Linked DNA regions of Homo sapiens: regions 2, 3, 4, 5, 6 and 7 are each linked to region 1. The links are contacts of gene promoters, found by promoter capture Hi-C in blood cells and fetal thymus (Javierre and others, 2016). All regions are on one chromosome and are shown on one strand. The core of a region is centred on a gene start or on the middle of the fragment in contact, and the rest is flanking DNA. Distances in the headings are between cores, read along the strand shown. Region 1 holds the start of FRGCA (FOXM1-regulated, gastric cancer associated). Region 2 overlaps HSF2BP (heat shock transcription factor 2 binding protein). Region 3 overlaps HSF2BP (heat shock transcription factor 2 binding protein). Region 4 overlaps HSF2BP (heat shock transcription factor 2 binding protein). Region 5 overlaps HSF2BP (heat shock transcription factor 2 binding protein). Region 6 overlaps HSF2BP (heat shock transcription factor 2 binding protein). Region 7 overlaps LOC124905029 (a long non-coding RNA gene).

Region 1 (2,536 bases), core at 19-2,518:
ATAAGTGTGAAACTCTGTCTCAAAAAAAAAAAAGAGGCATATTTCTGCTCTCAAAACATCACCAGAACAGGTGTGGTGGCTCACACCTGTAATCCCAGCACTTCGGGAGGCTGAGGTGGCAGATCTCTTGAGGCAAGGAGTTCAAAACCAGCCTGGGCGACATGATGAAACCCCATCTCTACAAAAAATGCCCCCCAAATTAGCCAGGAAAGGTGGTGTGTGCCTGTGGTCCCAGCTACTTAGGAGGCTGAGGTGGGAGGATTGCTTGAGCCTCAGAGGCTAAGGTTGCGGTGAGCTGTGATCACACCACCACACTCCAGCCTGGGCGACGGAACAAAACCCTATTTCCAAAAAAACCCCACAAAAAAACAAAAAACACCACCAAATTTCTAAAGACCCAAACACTTCTAATATTAAACATTGAAATAAATGTAAACTATCCCTACATGTAGAGGTAGCTACACCTACATAAGGAAGATTAATACAAACAAGTGAGATCATGATCTACCCAATATTTGGGATGTCTGTGAGTGACGGCGGTGGTAGTGGTGGTGGTGAAATCACGGAATCAATGTCTGCAAAGCACACGCTCTTGGGAGCACCTCCTCCCACCGCACAGCTGAAAGACAAGCGACCGTGAGTATGGCGGCTCCTTGAGCACCCTCACACGCGGCGTTTGTTGTCATGCGTTTGTGTGATTACCGTAGGCTTTATAATTTTTATTTGATAATTTATATTCATGTATTCATTCATTTTCCAACTTGCTTTCTCCAGTTCAGAGTGGCAGGTGACCAGGGCCCATCCTGGAGGCTCAGTGCCAAGGTGGGCACCCGCCCTGGATAGGACAGGCCTCCATGGGACACCCACACTCACTCGGACTAGGCCCATGTAGACATGCCGTGAGGCTGAGGTGTATACTTGGGATGTGGGAGGAAACTGGAGGACCTGGAGAAAACCCGCGCGGACCTGGGGAGACCTCCTCAATGCTCCCTAGAATGAAACGATGGGATTTGAGGACCTGCTGTATTTATTTGTCCCAATCCAGCGGCCCTGGCCTTCAGTGCACAGTAGTCCCTGCTGCTGGGCACACATCCCCTCATGCTCAGTCCATTGACCAGGACTGGGCACATGGCCTCACCTAGCTGCGGGCAGTGGCTTCTGCCCTGGGGCAGGCAGCTGCTCCAGGTCTGGAGATGAGCCCCACCTCCAGGTGCAGCTGCTCCAGGTGTGGAAACGGGGCTCTACCTCGTGGGGAGCGTCCGCTGCGGGCCACAACCTTGCTGGGAGGCTGCGGGAGATGGGGGGTAAGAGGGGTGATGTTGAGGCTTTCCCTCCTCGGCAGTGACCGGCGCAGCCCTCCCCAGTGTAGCTCCCCCCTCCCCACCCCTCCCTCCATCTGGAACACAGCACGGGGGCTGCCCTCCAGCCCTCAGTGTGCAGGGCTTGCACACCTTGGCTTGCAGGGCATTTGGGGGATCCCAGTGGGGCAACTGCCAGCTGGAGAGATGCTGGTGCCCAGCCGTGCTGCTCCTGGGGGCAGGCTGGGTAGGGGCTGAGGGGCCGGAGTGAGCGGTCCACAGTCATCCAGGAACAACAGGGCTCTCACCTGGCAGGGCTCCCAGGCACGTTGATGGAGGGAGGGTTTCCTCAGTCCTCTCCCCCAGCCCTTACTGGGCAGTACCCCCACCCACCATACTGTCTCTTGCCTGGGTCTCAGGTGGTTGGCGCTGTCTGGCCCCTGCCTCTCCCTCTGTCCCTTCAGCTGAAGCGGGCTCCACGCCATCCCAGGACTTCCCGCGCGGTCTGAAGCACAGCCACATCCGGTCTGACCGTCCCTCACCCCTCCCTCACCCCTCCCTCGCCCCCCCTCGCCCCTCCCTCGCCCCTCCCTCGCCCCCCCTCGCCACCCCAGGAGGAAATAGAGGCTGAGTGTCCGTGCCCTGCAGCCGAGCAGCCACCCTTGCCTTTGGCCCCACCTTCGCCTGCCTGGCGGCCGTCCTGTCACCTGTCATTCAGCCCTTGCTGTCTGCTGGGCACGTGCCCTGCAGGTGGGGTGCACGGCAGGCCCATGAGTGCCCACCATGCCTCGCCATTCAGGAAGCCACCCAGGTGCTCCGGGCGGTGTCAGGGCAGGGTGCGTCTGTGCGGCGTTTGCATGTGTCCACCGTCCTGACCGGGGGCAGGGCCACGTCCCACACATCTTTCTGCCTAACTTATGATGTGGCAAAGACACATCCCGATACCTCTCCCGGGTGGGCCTGTGAGCTGGGCTCTGTGACGCCAAGGCCCAGGACCTGCTCAGCCCTGGGAAGATGGAACTGGAGGGGACCTTGAGATGGCTGGCCCAGCCCCTTGTCTTATAGACAGGGAGACAGCAGAAAGGGAGATGGAGTCACCGGCCAGGACCCCAGCTATGAGTGGGAGCTGGACCAGGAGTTGAGTGTCCTGAGCCACCTCCTCCCTGTGCTGGGTCCACTCTCAGAAACACTCCAGGTCTGGAGGCAGACCTGGAGGCAGGGCAGGGCAGGGCAGGGAG
Region 2 (2,536 bases), core at 17-2,516, 490 kb after region 1:
GTGCCAGTAAATATAAAATACAATCTGTGAAGCTAAACAGGGAAAGAAAACCTAAAACCTAAGACCAGGTAGGAAAGATGGGAGGAGGGGCAAAAAGAAGTGTGAAGGCTGGGAGTCCTATTCATGCCCTGGTGCAGCAAGCCAGTGCCAGTCTAAGAAGAAGATGGAGGCTAGGAAGAGTTTCCTACTCTCCCACCAGCAGTGTCTGAGGTGACCTGTAGCTGGGCAAGTCTCCACCATGGCACTCTTCACAAGGGAAACACAGGGAATGGCCGTCCTGATGGCCCTCCTGACAACACAAGCACACTTCGAGGATTCACCTTGAGTGTACTGCTAGAGTGATGGGGGGCTTCCTGTCCTCTCCAACCACCAGCACCAGGTACCTGAAATTCCCTTAAAAGGTGATAGCATTTCCTGATTTAATAAGACAAAAACTGAAAAATATAAAACCCCAGTTAAATTCATTTATACCAAATGTAATTAGTTACATAAACCACAAAATTAAAGTATATTAAATGCTGTAGATTTTCTTTTAGAGAGATAAATACAAGACAAAGTAGAGGGGGCTTTTCACCCCCTGGAGGAAAAAGGGAGCTTTGGAGCCACAAATCAAAACTGTTGACCTCATAACTTGGATTAGGGTGGCCCACTCATAGTTACCTGGAGACAATGCGTTTGGCACACAGAGATTCATACACATTCATACGTATATGCACACATGTATTTAAGAAAAAAATGGCCACTGAGCCTCTGGCACATGCTAATACTGCATCATGTGATCTGTCAGCTCCGGGTTTTTAATGTCTTCATTATAGCAACAATCTGGACTCCTAGATTCATCCTTTCAGTGTACGTAGCTGAACACAAGTCATGGTGACACATGAAGAAAACTATGTCACAGCACTTCCTTTTGGAATTCTAGCTTTTCTCACAACTTAAGCTGTCTGCATCTCAATTAGTCAGGATATGGTGGTTCTTCTGCACGACCACAAAAAGACTACTGAGAAGAACCAGGAAGGACTTTGCTCACTACAGTCACATTTGGTAGTTGCAGGAGGATATTCCCCAACGCAGGGTTCCACACATAGTATAATAATATCAAAAAAAAAACAAACAAACCTCAAAGAAAATCATAGCATTCCCAGTAACATCAAAAATAAGAATAATTTTTTAAGGTGCAAGACCTATACAATGAAAACTACAAAGCATTACTGAGAGAAAGTAGAGCTAAATAAAGAGATACACCATGTTCAAAAATTGGCAGGATGTCAATTCTTCCCAAACTGATCTACAGATTCAACACAATCCCTATCAAAATCTCAGCAGACTTCTGTACAAAGTGATAATCTGATTCTAAAATTTCTATGGAAATTCAAGACAGAATATCTAAAAAATTGTCTGAAAAAGAAGAACAATGTTAGAAGACTAACAGTGCCTGATTTAGAGGAAAAAACTAACTATAAACCTACCGAAATAGAACCATTGTGGTATTGCTATAAGGATGGACATATAGATCAGTGAAACACTGACATGTCAACTGATTTTAACAAAGGTGCCAATGCAATTCAATGGAAAAAGGATAGTCTTTTCAACAACTGATGCTAAAACAACCGAATATTCATATGCAAAAAAAAAATAATTCAAAATGAATCATAGGGCCGGGTGCGGTGGCTCACACCTACAATCCTAGCATTCTGGGAGGCTGAGGTGGGTGGATTGCTTGAGGTCAGGAGTTCAAGACTAGCCTGACCAACATGGTAAAACCCCGTCTCTACTAAAAATACAAAAGTTAGTTGAGCATGGTGGCACGGGCCTGTAATCCCACCTATAATCCCACCTACTCGGGAGGCTGAGGCAGGAGAATCGCTTGAACCCAGGAGGGGGCGACTGCAGTGAGCCGAGATCGTGCCACTGCACTCCAGCCTGGGTGACAGAGCGAGACTCCATCTCAAAAAAAAAAAAAAAAAAACAGAATCATAGGCCAGGCACAGTGGCTAATTGTACCTTGGGAGGCTGAGACGGGAGGATCGAGACCATCCTGGGCACCATAGTGAGACCCCATCTCTACAAAAAAAAAAAAAAATTTTTTTTAAATAGCCAGGCATGGTGAGGCTGAAGTAGGATCACTTGAGCCTGGAAGGTCGAAGCTGAAGTGAGCCATGATCACACCACTACACTCCAGCCTAGGTGACAGAGCAAGACACCATCTCAAGAAAGAAAAAAAAGAAAGAAAAGAAAAGAAAAGAAAAGAAAAGAAAAGAAAAGAAAAGAAAAGAAAAGAAAAGAAAAGAAAAAACGAAGGGGAAAAAAAGAGAATCATAAACATAAATGTAAAATTTCTCAAAAAAATCGTTATGACCATAGGTTAGGCAAATATTTCTTAGATATCACAAAATCATGACCTATTAAAAAATAATAATAAAGTAAGTTTCATCAAAACTTAAAAGTTCTACTCTTCAAAAGATACCTTATAAAGAAAGTAAAAAGACACGCCACAGGCTAAGAGAAAGTACTTCTAATCACATATCTAAAAAAG
Region 3 (2,536 bases), core at 26-2,525, 480 kb after region 1:
ATGAAAATGGATTTTGAAGAAAACTTATTTTCTCAATTTTATGTCCCATTGTGGAACAGCAAGTATCCCATTTCTTCATGCCTGAGGCCCTGCGAATCGGCCTGAAGACCAGACCGAGTAATTACACTGCTCCCAATGGGCAGTGCTGCAGCCATTACTGGCTCCATCAACATTTCCAAATACCTCGAAGTATCCAATGATCCAAGTGCATTTATGTATGTGTTTGTTAAGAGTTTTCTTTAGTTGGGTCTGACAGTAAAGCATGATTCAAACTGACTAAGATTTCTAAGCCAAATGACGAGACCAAGGTGGAAAAGAGATGGGGCAGCAGCACTGCCTTGCTCCTGATTTTAATGGAAACGCTTCTAAAAATTCACAGTTAAGTGTGATGTCTGATCTGTTTCTGGTAGATACCCTTTATCAGTTTAAAGAAGTCTTCTTCTATTTTTGGCTTGCTAAGAATTATCAAAAATGGAAGCTGAATTTTATCACTTATTTCTTCTGCCTTTGACTGGATGTAATCTGATGGCAGAATATAAAATTTCATGTTACCCGGCCAGCTTCATGAACTCAGATCTTTGACATTACTATTTACTTTTGTTCACCTGGTCTCAGATGGACCACAAGAGGGATAGTAAAGTCTACTAAACCTAACAGATGTTTCCCCCTTTCTACTTGTCTTTGCAGCATTTTAACTATATCATTGGTGCAGTGTCTTCAAGTACACGCTTTGATGACAGCCATAACTTTATTGACAGAACCTTTCAATGACATAAACTTACCTTCTTTGGTCAATGAATTTTAACCTGATAGGTACATTTTCCAGAATATGACACATTCTAGTTTTACTAAGGAAATATTTTAGGAGAAAAACAAAGCAAGTAAGCATTTGGCATCAGAAACACATAAAAGATAGCTTTTAGGTAGCTTTTCAGGGGAAAGCATTATTCATGTAAATAACTTCAGATAATATACTGAAACCCAGCAGAAACCCAGATGTTGGAGAGCAGCAACAGCAAACTGTCCCTGCCAAACCTGACCAAACTGTAGACCCATGATCAAGATAAATGTTAAGACTTTATATTTTGAGGAGGTTTGTTACACAGCAATAGAAAATAGAAACATTACTAATACATCGCTGAAGAAAAAAAAAAAATATATATATATATATATCATAGCAAGCAACATAGAACTATTTGGTAGCCTGACTCCAGAGATGGCTACCAGGTGGGCCTGGCCTCATGTTCAGACCCTTGAGTAGTCACCTACACTGCGACTCACTTGTAACAAGTAGAACGCAGCAGAATGCACACCATGAGCCTTCCAAGGATGGACAGGAAGAAGCCTTAAGATTTCCACTTTGGTCTCCTGCCACTTGCTCTAGGATCCCTGAGTCACTATGAAAGAGTCCAGCTACCCTAAGGCTGCCATGATGAAGAGACCACACAGAAATAGCACAGTGAAGGCCAGATGTGGTGGCTCACGCCAGTAATCCCAGCACTTTGGAAGGCCAAGGTGGGTGAATCACCTGAGGTCAGGAGTTTGAGATGAGCCTGGCCAACATGGCAAAACCCTGTCTCTACTAAAAATACGAAATTAGCCAGGCGTCGTGGCTTACACCCGTAATCCTAGTTACTTGGGAGGCTAAGGCAGGAGAATCATTTGAACCCAGGAGGTGGATGCTGCAGTAAGCCGAGATTGCACTACTGCACTCCAGCCTAGGAGACAGAGCGAAACTCTGTCTTTAAAAAAAAGAAAAAACACGGTGGCTCACGCCTGTAATCCCAGCACTTTGGGAGGCCGAGGTGGGCGGATCACGCGGTCTGGAGATCAAGATCATCCTGGCTAACATGATGAAACCGTCTCTACTAAAAATACAAAAAATTAGCCGGGCGCGGTGGCAGGTGCCTGTAGTCCCAGCTACTCCAGATGCTGAGGCAGGAGAATGGTGTGAACCTGGGAGGCAGAGTTTGCAGTGAGCTGAGATCACACCATTGCACTCCAGCCTGGGTGATAGAGCAAGACTCCATCTCAAAAAAAAAAGAAAAAAGGAAAAAAAGGATAAGAAATAGCACAGTGAAGAAGCCTTGAGACTCTATGAGGAAAGAAGAGAGAGAAAGACACCCCACTAGCCCCCAGCTGTTCCATCCCTCAACGATTTGAGTCATCCCAGCTAAGGCCCCAGATGTTGGAGAGCAGAAGCAGCAAACTGTCCCTGCCAAGCCTGACCAAACTGTAGACCCACGAGCAAGATAAATGTTAAGACTTTATATTTTGAGGAGGTTTGTTACACAGCAATAGAAAATAGAAACATTACTAATACATCGCTGAAGAAAAAAAATATATATATATGTATCTCATAGCAAGCAACAATGCCCAACACAACAAATGTACTGGTAAATGAAGTCTGTATCATATATCTAGTATTTTAACTGCAAATGCCAATGCTGCATTTCATTAAATATCACTAAAACATGAACTACAAAGTAAAATAAATGTGAATAAATTCCTACACAGCTTCAGTATTTGTCAATCT
Region 4 (2,536 bases), core at 12-2,511, 440 kb after region 1:
GAGGCGGGCGGATCACGAGGTCAGGAGATCGAGACCATCCTGGCTAACACGGTGAAACCCTGTCTCTACTAAAAATACGAAAAATTAGCCGGGCGTGGTGGCAGGTGCCTGTAGTCCCAGCTACTTGGGAGGCTGAGGCAGAAGAATGGCGTGAACCTGGGAGGCAGGGCTTGCAGTGAGCCAAGATCACGCCTCTGAACTCCAGCCTGGGTGGCAGAGTGAGACTCTGTCTCAAAAAAAAAAAAAGAAAGAAAAGAAAGAAGGATAAAAGGAGTCACTTATGAAAGATGCTGGGATAACTCAAAATCTGAGGAAAAGCTATACAGCCCACCTGGACAGGGATAAAGCTGACTGCAAGCCATAGGGCTCCTCTGCATCTCAGGTCAGCATTTATGTCTTGGCTTCAGCAACTGACAACACAGATAAATTTTCTCCAGGTGGCCAGGAACACGGCCACAGGCAGCTCTAGAGTCACATCCAATAGTTTCACGGCCCAAGAAAGGCAAAAAAAACACTGTTCTTCAGCAGCTGAAGCCAGAAAACTCCTGGAGAAAGACTATGGCCCAGCTCAGAGCACACACCCACCACTAAAATCACTGCTGTGGCCACAGCCATATAGCTGGCACTGCCAAGTCTCACCTTAGCCAGTGGTCAGAAGGGTCTGTGCTGCGGGAGATGAGGGCCTGCTGAGGGAGATGAGGGCCTGCTGAGGGGCCCTGCTGTGGGGGATGAGGGCCTGCTGTGGGGAATGAGGCCCTGCTGTGGGAGATGAGGGCCTGCCGTGGGGGATGAGGGTCTGCTGTGGGAGATGAGGGCCTGCTGTGGGGGATGAGGGCCTGCTGTGGGAGATGAGTGCCTGCTGTGGGGGATGAGGGCCTGCTGAGGGGCCCTGTTGTGGGGGATGAGGGCCTGCTGTGGGAGATGAGGGCCTGCTGTGGGAGATGAGGGCCTGCTGTGGGGAATGAGGCCCTGCTGTGGGGGATGAGGGCCTGCTGTGGGGAATGAGGCCCTGCTGTGGGGGATGAGGGCCTGCTGTGGGAGATGAGGGCCTGCTGTGGGGGATGAGGGCCTGCTGTGGGGGATGAGGGCCTGCTGAGGGAGATGAGTGCCTGCTGAGGGGGATGAAGGCCTGCTGAGGGGGATGAAGACCTGCTGTGGGAGATAAGGGCCTGTTGCGGGAGATGAGGGCCGGCTGAGGGAGATGAAGACCTGCTGTGGGGGATGAGGGCCTGGTGAGGGGGATGAGGGCCTGCTGCAGGAGATGAGGGCCTGTTGCGGGAGATGAGTACCTGTTGAGGGAGATGAGGGCCGGCTGAGGGAGATGAAGGGCCTGCTGAGGGAGATGAAGGGCCTGCTGAGGGAGATGAAGGGCCTGCTGAGGGAGATGAGGACCTGCTGAGGGAGATGAGGACCTGCTGAGGGAGATGAAGGCCTGCTGAAGGAGATGAAGGCCTGCTGAGGGAGATGAAGGGCCTGCTGAGGGAGATGAAGGGCCTGCTGAGGGAGATGAGGACCTGCTGAGGGAGATGAGGACCTGCTGAGGGAGATGAGGACCTGCTGAGGGAGATGAAGGCCTGCTGAAGGAGATGAAGGCCTGCTGAGGGAGATGAAGGGCCTGCTGAGGGAGATGAAGATCTGCTGTGGGGGATGAGGGCCTGGTGAGGGGGATGAGGGCCTGCTGCGGGAGATGAGTACCTGTTGAGGGAGATGAGGGCCAGCTGAGGGAGATGAAGGGCCTGCTGAGGGAGATGAAGGGCCTGCTGAGGGAGATGAGGACCTGCTGAGGGAGATGAAGGCCTGCTGAGGGAGATGAAGGCCTGCTGAGGGAGATGAGGACCTGCTGAGAGAGATGAAGGGCCTGAGGGAGATGAAGGGCCTGCTGAGGGAGATGAGGACCTGCTGAGGGAGATGAGGACCTGCTGAGGGAGATGAAGGCCTGCTGAAGGAGATGAAGGCCTGCTGAGGGAGATGAAGGGCCTGCTGAGGGAGATGAAGGGCCTGCTGAGGGAGATGAGGACCTGCTGAGGGAGATGAGGACCTGCTGAGGGAGATGAGGACCTGCTGAGGGAGATGAAGGCCTGCTGAAGGAGATGAAGGCCTGCTGAGGGAGATGAAGGGCCTGCTGAGGGAGATGAAGACCTGCTGTGGGGGATGAGGGCCTGGTGAGGGGGATGAGGGCCTGCTGCGGGAGATGAGTACCTGTTGAGGGAGATGAGGGCCAGCTGAGGGAGATGAAGGGCCTGCTGAGGGAGATGAAGGGCCTGCTGAGGGAGATGAGGACCTGCTGAGGGAGATGAAGGCCTGCTGAGGGAGATGAAGGCCTGCTGAGGGAGATGAGGACCTGCTGAGAGAGATGAAGGGCCTGAGGGAGATGAAGGGCCTGCTGAGGGAGATGAGGACCTGCTGAGGGAGATGAAGACCTGCTGAGGGAGATGAGGACCTCCTGAGGGAGATGAAGGGACTGCTGAGGGAGATGAAGACCTGCTGAGGGAGATGAAGGACCTGCTGAGGGAGATGAGGACCTGCTGAGAGAGAT
Region 5 (2,536 bases), core at 17-2,516, 420 kb after region 1:
CCACTACACTCCAGCCTGGGTGACAGAGCAAGACTCCATCTCAAACAACAACAACACAAAAAAAAAAAGAAAAGAAAAGACAATTATAGGCTAACATTCCTAATGAATATAGACTTAGAAATTCTCAGCAAAATACTAGCAAACTAAATCCAACGGCACATCAGAAAAATAACACATCATTATCAAATGGAACTTAACTTATCCCAGGGATTCAAGGATGGTTCAACATATGCAAATCAATAAACATGATACATTACATCAACAGAACAAACGACAAAACCATATGATCATTCAACAGATGCTAAAAAAGCATTTGGTAAAATTCAACATCCTTTTATGATAAAAACCTTAAAAAAACTAAGGATAGAAGGAATATACCTCAACAAAATAAAGGCCACGTGTGACAAATCCACAGCTAACATCATACTAAATGAGAAATGCTGAAATCCTTTCAGCCAAGAACTGCAACAAGACAAGATGCCCACTTTCACCACTCCTATCCAACATAGTACTGGAAGACCTAGCCAGAGCAATCAGACAAGATAAATAAATAAAAGGCAGCAAAATTGGAAAAGAAGAAGTCAAACTGTCCTTCTTTGCTAAAGATATGATCTTCTACCTAGAAAAATCTAGAGTCCACCAAAAAACTGTTAGAACTGATAAATCCAGTGAAGCTGCAGGATACAAAATCAATATACAAAAATCAACAGTGTTTCTATACACCAACAATGAACAAGCTGAGAAAGAAATAAAGAATGAAGTCGCATTTACAACAGCTACCAAAAAATTAAAATACCTAGGAATAAATTTATCCTAGGAGGCGAAAGATCTCTACAAGGAAAATGACAAAACACAGAAGAAAGAAATTAAACAGGACATAAACAAAAAGACATCCCATGTTCAAAGACTGGAAGAATTAATAGCCTCAAAATAATCATACTGCCCAAAGCCATCTACAGATTCAACGCAATCTCTATCAAAATACCAATGTCATTTTTCACAGAAATTGAAAAAAAATCTTAAAATTTGCATGGAACCAAAAGAATCCAAATAGCCAATGCAATTGTGAGCAAAAAAAAAGAAAAAAGAAAAGAAAAAGAAAAAAGCAAGAGGCATCATATTACCTGACTTCAAAACAGATTACAAAGCTTTAGTAACCGAAACAGCATGGTACTGGTATAAAAACAGACACACACACCAATGGAACAGAATCCAGAATCTAGAAATAAATCCACGTATTTACAACAGAGGTGCAAGAATATACCTTGGGGGAAGGACAGTCTCTTTGATAAATGGTGCTGGGAAAATTGGATATCCATATGCAGAAGAATGAAATTCGATCCCTATCTCTCACCAAATATTTAAAAAGCAACTCAAGATGGATTGAAGCTTAAATGTTAGACCCAAAACTAAAAACTACTAGAAGAAAATATAGGGAATACACTTCAGGACATTTGGTACAGGCAAATATTTTATAGCTAAGACCTTGAAAGCACAGACAACAAACAAAAATAGACAAATGAGACTATATTGAACTAAAAACCTTCTGCACAGCAAAAGAAACAACAGAATGAAGAGACAATGTGCTGAATGGGAGAAACTATTTGCAAACTATTCCTCTGACAAGGGGATCTATCTAAAAGGAACTCAAACAACTCAAATAAAAGAACAAATAATCCCATTAAAAAGTGAGCAAAAGATTTGAACAGATATTCCTCAAAATAAGCCATACAAATGGTCAATAAGTATACAAAAAAAAACCACTAATCATCAGGGAAATGCAAACTGAAATCACAATGAGATATCATCTTACCCAGTTAGAATGGCTATCACTAAAAAGACAAAAAACAGATGCTGGCGAGGATGTGGAGAAAAGGGAACTTTTACACATTGTTGATAGGCATGTAAATTAGAATAGCCACTACAGAAAACAGTATGGAGATTTCTCAAGAAACTAGAAATAGAACTACCACGTGATCTAGCAATTCCACTTCTGGATATTTATCCAAAGGAAAAGTAATCAATATATCAAAGGGATACCCCCATGTTTATTGCAGCACTGTTCCTAATAGACAAGAGACAAAATCAACCTACAAATGTCTGTCAACAGGTGAATGGATAAAGAAAATGTGGTATATATACACAGTGGAATACTGTTCAGGCTTAGAAAAGAATGAAATTATGTCATTTGCAGCAACATGGATAGAACTGCAGGTCATTAAGCGAAATAAGCCAGACACAGAAAGACAAATTTTGCATGTTCTCACTCATATGTGGAAACTAAAAAGTGGATCTCATGAAGGTTGAGAGTAGAGTGACTGATAGCAGAGGCTGGGAAGGGTCTGTGGGTTGAAGTGGGGATGAGAGAGGTTGGTCAATACAAACACAGTCAGATAGAAGGTGTAAGTACTAATGTTTGAGAGTAGAGTAGGGTGATGATAGTTAACAACAATGTATACTGTATTTCAAAGTAGCTAGAAGTATGTGAAATGTTCTCAATACATATAAATAATACTCAAGGTGATGGATACTCCAA
Region 6 (2,536 bases), core at 14-2,513, 390 kb after region 1:
AACACGTTTGACAGTTTAGAAAACTACAGGATAACCCAGAAACACAGTCACTGCTTGATATAAAAGCTTAGCTCATAAAAGCAGCATCAAAAAACTCAATAGTCTAATAACCATCATCTTCAAATATTACAGTCATACAATTTTAAAGTGTTAAACTAGAAAGATGAGGGCTTTCTCTGTTTGCTAGTGAGGACTAAACTCTGATTTTTTTTATCTTGCCCAAATTCCTATCTAAGGGGTCTGGGGAGTCATGTCCTACAAATCACAAATTCTCATCAGATGGGTTTTATTTAACCCTATATATCATGACTTTCCAACCTGACTCTGGCATAACATTATGAGACAAGAAAGAAAATAAAAATACTTTACCCCAAAATATGTTTCTTTGCCATATTTTGAAATGGCCCTGCAAAGCTGTTCTTTGTGGGGGAAAATCTGCATTTGTAAAGAATCTCTACTAACATAGCTAGATCTTTTTCTTCGAGACCCTCCTAATCCTAAAGAGATTAACTAAGATCTGAATAGGAAACATCTGTCATCTATTGTCTCTAAGGCAGCCACCATAAGACTTCAAAAGAACTTGGATGTCCACAATCTTTACCTTAACCTGAACATTCCCTTTCTATCAATCCCAGGTCTTTATCAATCAGAAAATGTTTAAATTCACCTATAGCCTGGAAGCCCCACGCCCCCCAGCTTTGTCCCACTTTTCTGGACCAAACCAATGTATTTCTTAAATGTTTTTGATTGATGTCTCACACCTCTCTAAAATGTATAAAGCCAAGCCGCACCCAACTACCTTGGGCACATGTTCTCAGGACCTCACTCATATTTGGCTCAGAACAAATCTCTTCAAATATTTTGCAGAGTTTGACTCTTTGTCGACAGTAGCATTCTGTCCACTTATAAGATTGTTTTAAAAAGTATTACTTCTTTTTCACTCCAATTGCAGCAAATCCCTCAGGGACCACATACAGATACAGCACTTATCAGGGCCACTGAGTTTACACAATGTCACTGGGTATATAAAATTCACGTTGTTTATTTTCCATGGGAATGGCCCCAGGACTTATAGAATCTGGTAGCCTTGCATACATTGTAGCAACCACTAAAAAATAGCTAGACAAACCCACTGGAAGCTTCAATCCATCACCAGAGTGGAGCCAACTTTCCTTACCATTCCTCTCTACTGGCAGCCTTTACGATGCCGTAAATTCACTCCTTGACTGGGTACTGCAACTGGAACCAGGCTCAAAATCAGCACCTCTTTCTTAGCACATTTACTTAACAAATAAAAAAATTAAAAAAAAACCTTTTAAGATGTAGACTGAAAGAGCAGACTGAACAGTCTCTCAGTGGGAGCTGCCACAGCACTAAGCCCTAACAAGAAGCTTCTCACCTACAGAATCAGAAGACTGCTGTGGCCAGGGAAGATAAAAGGCAATCTGCTCTAGCCCTCAGGGAGGGTCCAGGAGCCATCTTAAGCCAGCCTGTTAGAGTCCTCCTACTTTGGGGGAAGGGAGGGGAACTTTCTCTAGTAGAGACCTGCCAAAGATAAGGGGCAGCTAAGGCAGACACAGAGGCAAGGCCAAAAGCCATGGGTGAAGACGCTTTGGCAACTCAGCCCTCATCCTAAGCTCAAGGAAAGGTTAGAGGAATTTGAAGCCAGTGGGATGGAAGGTACATACACAACAACAAAACCCAGACCCACCTTAACTCCCCAACAATGAAAACCCAGCGGAAAAAGAGGAGTGGCCATTCCTGAATATAACACTATCTACCCACCTCATTCCCCTCTACAGAGAGGGTACGCATGGCCCAGAGGCCAAAGGTAGCCCATGACCCGTTTCTGTACAGCCTGCAAGCTAAGAATGGTTTTACTTTTTTTTTCTTCTTCTTCTTCTTCTTTCCTCCTCCTCCTCCTCCTCCTCCCCCCCCCTCCTCTCCTCCTCCACCACCTCCTCCTCCCCCCCCCCTCCTCCTCCTCCTTTTGGAGACAGGGTCTTGCTCTGTCTCCCAGGCTGGAGTACTCTGGTACAATCATGGCTCACTGCAGTCTCAATCTCCTGGGCTCAAGCCATCCTCCCACCTCGGCCTCCCAAGAAAGAGGGACCACAGAACATGTGGCCACGCCCAGTTAATTTTTCACATTTTTTTGTAGAGACGGTGTCTCACCACACTGCCCAGGCTGGTATCAAACCCCTGGGCTCAAGCAATCCTTCCACCTCAGTCTCCCAAAGGGCCAGAATTAGAGGCATGAACCATTGCAGCCTGCCAGGTTTTACATTTTTTAAGGGTAATTTTTTAAAAGTAAAAACCAGAAGAATAACATGCAACAGGGACTACACGTGGCTCTCAAAACTCAAAATATTTATTTGGCCCATTACAGAAAAAGTTTTTTGACCTTGCCTACTGCCCTCCACACAATGTCCAACACTGAAATCAAAAATTACAATGAAGAGGCAATGGAGGCCAGGCGCAGTGGCTCACACCTGTAATCCCAGCACTTTGGGAGGCCAAGGCGGGCGGATCACGA
Region 7 (2,536 bases), core at 11-2,510, 300 kb after region 1:
TTTTGGCTTTTTTTTTTTTTTTGAGATGGAGTTTCGCCCTTGTTGCCCAGGCTGGAATGCAGTGGCACGATCTTGGCTCACTGCAACCTCTACCTCCCGAGTTCAAGCGATTCTCCTGCCTCGGCCTCCCAAAGTGCTGGGATTACAGGCGCGCCACCATGCCTGGCAAATTTTTGTATTTTTAGTAGAGACGGGGTTTCCCCATTGTGGCCAGGCTGGTCTCAAACTCCTGACCTCAGGTGATCCACTCGTCTCGGCCTCCTAAAGTGCTGGGAAACAGGCATGAGCAACTGCTCCCGGCCATGTCCCATAATTGAATCTGTGCTACCAAATTTATATTTTATAAATATATATTTTTAAAAATTCCAGTTTGTAGCAAAGATGGTACTGTGGTTTGAAAGTGTTCCCCAAAGTTCATGTGTCGGAAGCTTGATCCCCAACATGGCCGTGTTGGGAGATGCGGTCTCATGGGAGGTGTTTGGACCGCAGGGGCACGACCCTCACAAGTGGGTTAATATTTTATTACAGCAAATATATACTAAGTTTGTTGGCCTTTGTTGGGCCTGTTTATTACATCTTGGATTTTCAGTGACTTTTTTTCTTCTACCTGAGTTTAAAACAGTGCACATGAAAGGATTTGGAATTTTAAAACTTTTTTCTTGATGATAAAATTGAATATATGATTATTATAAAAAATATATATGAAAATAATAATACTAACATATAAGAAATAATTCATAATTCTACCACTCAGATATCATCACTCAGTATTTTGGTGCATTTTTTTCTAGTTGAATAGATGTAAATTTTTAAAAAATAAATTTGGATTGTACCCCATATGAACACTCTTATAGCCTTTCTATTTGTAGAAAGAGAATTCCATGTATCATATATAATTTAAATACATTATTCTTAATATCTAATATCTCATGTTTAACATGTAACATTCCCATTTATTTAACATTTCTATTTGTAGACATTATTGTTTCTACACGTTACTATAAACAGTGTTATTGTGAGCATCTTTCCCAAAACTCTTAATTCCTATGTGAAATTTTTCCCTAGGATAAAGGCTTAAAAATGGAATTACCAAGTGAAAGAGGATAAAGTGTCTTAAAGCCTTTGATATATGTTGCCAAACTGCTGGGGCACCCCTGACCTTAAACTGTGCCAACATTTAAGAATTTTCATTTTAAAAATATTTTGCTAAGTTCAGAAGTGGAAAATAATATCTGTATTAGTTTCCTAGGGCAGCCATAACAAAGTATAAAAAACAAGCAGTTCTAAACAACAGAAATGTGTCCTCCCACAGTTCTGGAGCCAGATGTCTGAAATCTGTGTGGGCAAGGCCATGTTCCCTCTTCAGCCTCCTGGCGAGATTCCTTTCATGCCTCTTCCAGCTTCTGGAGGTTCTCAGGGACACCTGTCAGTCGTTGGCTTACAGATCCCTCATCCAGTCTCCGCCACCATCTTCAGATGGGCCGGCTTTTCCTGGGGCCTCCCTCTCTTCTTATAAGGACACCAGGCATTCTGTATTTAGGACCCAGCCTACTCCAGTATGGTCTCACTCTAACTAGTTAATCTGCAACCACCCTATTTCCAAATAAGGCCATGTTCTTAGGTACAGGAGGTGAGGACTTAACATACCTTTCAGTAGGGGGACACAGTTCAATCCGTAATAGCATGCATTTATTGTAATGGGCACTTCTTGGATTTCCTTATGGAAAGTGATTCTTCTCTTCATGTTCATTGGCCATTTGTGTTTGAGTGTCAGTTCTTATTTTCTGCTCCATTTTCTATTAGTGGGTCTCAGTCAAGGCTCCCTTTATTGTGAGAGGCAGAAATGCAACTGAAACTGGTTCAAGCTAAAAGGAGAGTTGGTGGTTAACATAACTAAAGGGCCCAGGATACTACAGGCTTCAGGTTGAGCTCGACCCAGGCTCACACAATGTTTATCTGTTCTATTCCCTTTTTTCAGCAGCATCCCTCAGTTCTACTTCCCTGCCTTGGCTTTGTTCTCAGGCAGGCTCATTCCAGTTTGTAGCAAAGATGGTGCTATGCTTTGAAAGTGCCCCCCAAAGTTCATGTGTCAGAAGCTTGATCCCCATCATGGCAATGGTGGGAGGTGGGGCCTAATGGGAGGTGCTTGGGTCATAGGGGTACGACCCTCACAAGTGGATTAATACCATTATCTCAAGAGTGCGTTCCTTATAAAAGGACAAGTTTGGCCCCATCTTGCGCGCTCTCTCTCTCTCTCTCCCCCTCTCTTTGTGTGTGTGTGTGTGTGTGTGTGTGTGTGTGTGTGTGTGTGTGTGCTCTCACTTTCTCACTCTTGCCCTTCTGCCTTCCACCTTGGGATGCCGCAGCAAGAAGGCCCTAACTAGATGCCAGTGCCATGCTCTTGGACTTCCCAGCCTCCCCAGGACATCTCTGTTCATTATAGATTACCCAGACTTGATATTTTGTTATAGCTGCACAAAGCAGACTAAGACAGGTAGCTAACATCCTACTAGTTCACCGTCTACAGAGAAAGCAT

The links. Contacts are between HindIII fragments. The CHiCAGO score rates a contact against its expected background, and 5 or more counts as called.
Region 2: a contact is called between a fragment that was not itself captured here and the fragment with the promoter of FRGCA in region 1, in 17 of 17 cell types (naive CD8 T cells, naive CD4 T cells, M2 macrophages and 14 more). The highest score is 19.9, in naive CD8 T cells.
Region 3: a contact is called between a fragment that was not itself captured here and the fragment with the promoter of FRGCA in region 1, in 15 of 17 cell types (naive CD8 T cells, M2 macrophages, total CD4 T cells and 12 more). The highest score is 11.7, in naive CD8 T cells.
Region 4: a fragment that was not itself captured here is called in contact with the fragment with the promoter of FRGCA in region 1 in 6 of 17 cell types (naive CD8 T cells, naive CD4 T cells, total CD8 T cells and 3 more); the score reaches 8.9 in naive CD8 T cells.
Region 5: a contact is called between a fragment that was not itself captured here and the fragment with the promoter of FRGCA in region 1, in 9 of 17 cell types (total B cells, naive B cells, total CD8 T cells and 6 more). The highest score is 9.0, in total B cells.
Region 6: a contact is called between a fragment that was not itself captured here and the fragment with the promoter of FRGCA in region 1, in 9 of 17 cell types (naive B cells, total CD8 T cells, naive CD8 T cells and 6 more). The highest score is 10.8, in naive B cells.
Region 7: a contact is called between a fragment that was not itself captured here and the fragment with the promoter of FRGCA in region 1, in 1 of 17 cell types (endothelial precursors). The highest score is 6.1, in endothelial precursors.

What each region holds. Positions count from the first base shown.
Region 1 is chr21:43,139,824-43,142,359 of GRCh38, forward strand. It overlaps FRGCA (FOXM1-regulated, gastric cancer associated), which reads right to left and starts at 1,269. Exons shown (of 2, transcript NR_133677.1): 1 at 1,139-1,269; 2 at 700-990. All of the region lies in intron 4 of LOC101928369 (a long non-coding RNA gene), which reads left to right. RefSeq lists enhancers at 1,662-2,199, 2,200-2,536. The HindIII fragment of the contact is 22,159 bases long and covers 1-2,536 here.
Region 2 is chr21:43,633,979-43,636,514 of GRCh38, forward strand. The region is part of intron 4 of HSF2BP (heat shock transcription factor 2 binding protein); the gene reads right to left. Among named protein-coding and RNA genes, the nearest start is that of HSF2BP, 24 kb to the right of the region's middle. The HindIII fragment of the contact is 7,109 bases long and covers 1-2,536 here.
Region 3 is chr21:43,614,898-43,617,433 of GRCh38, forward strand. The region is part of intron 6 of HSF2BP (heat shock transcription factor 2 binding protein); the gene reads right to left. Among named protein-coding and RNA genes, the nearest start is that of MIR6070, 6.2 kb to the left of the region's middle. The HindIII fragment of the contact is 9,663 bases long and covers 1-2,536 here.
Region 4 is chr21:43,581,153-43,583,688 of GRCh38, forward strand. All of the region lies in intron 8 of HSF2BP (heat shock transcription factor 2 binding protein), which reads right to left. Among named protein-coding and RNA genes, the nearest start is that of H2BC12L, 17 kb to the left of the region's middle. RefSeq lists an enhancer at 2,518-2,536. The HindIII fragment of the contact is 4,467 bases long and covers 1-2,536 here.
Region 5 is chr21:43,559,722-43,562,257 of GRCh38, forward strand. All of the region lies in intron 8 of HSF2BP (heat shock transcription factor 2 binding protein), which reads right to left. Among named protein-coding and RNA genes, the nearest start is that of H2BC12L, 4.2 kb to the right of the region's middle. The HindIII fragment of the contact is 241 bases long and covers 1,147-1,387 here.
Region 6 is chr21:43,530,395-43,532,930 of GRCh38, forward strand. The region is part of intron 8 of HSF2BP (heat shock transcription factor 2 binding protein); the gene reads right to left. Among named protein-coding and RNA genes, the nearest start is that of H2BC12L, 34 kb to the right of the region's middle. The HindIII fragment of the contact is 252 bases long and covers 1,138-1,389 here.
Region 7 is chr21:43,438,015-43,440,550 of GRCh38, forward strand. It overlaps LOC124905029 (a long non-coding RNA gene), which reads left to right. Exons shown (of 3, transcript XR_007067891.1): 3 at 1-837. Among named protein-coding and RNA genes, the nearest start is that of LINC00319, 7.3 kb to the right of the region's middle. The HindIII fragment of the contact is 1,668 bases long and covers 427-2,094 here.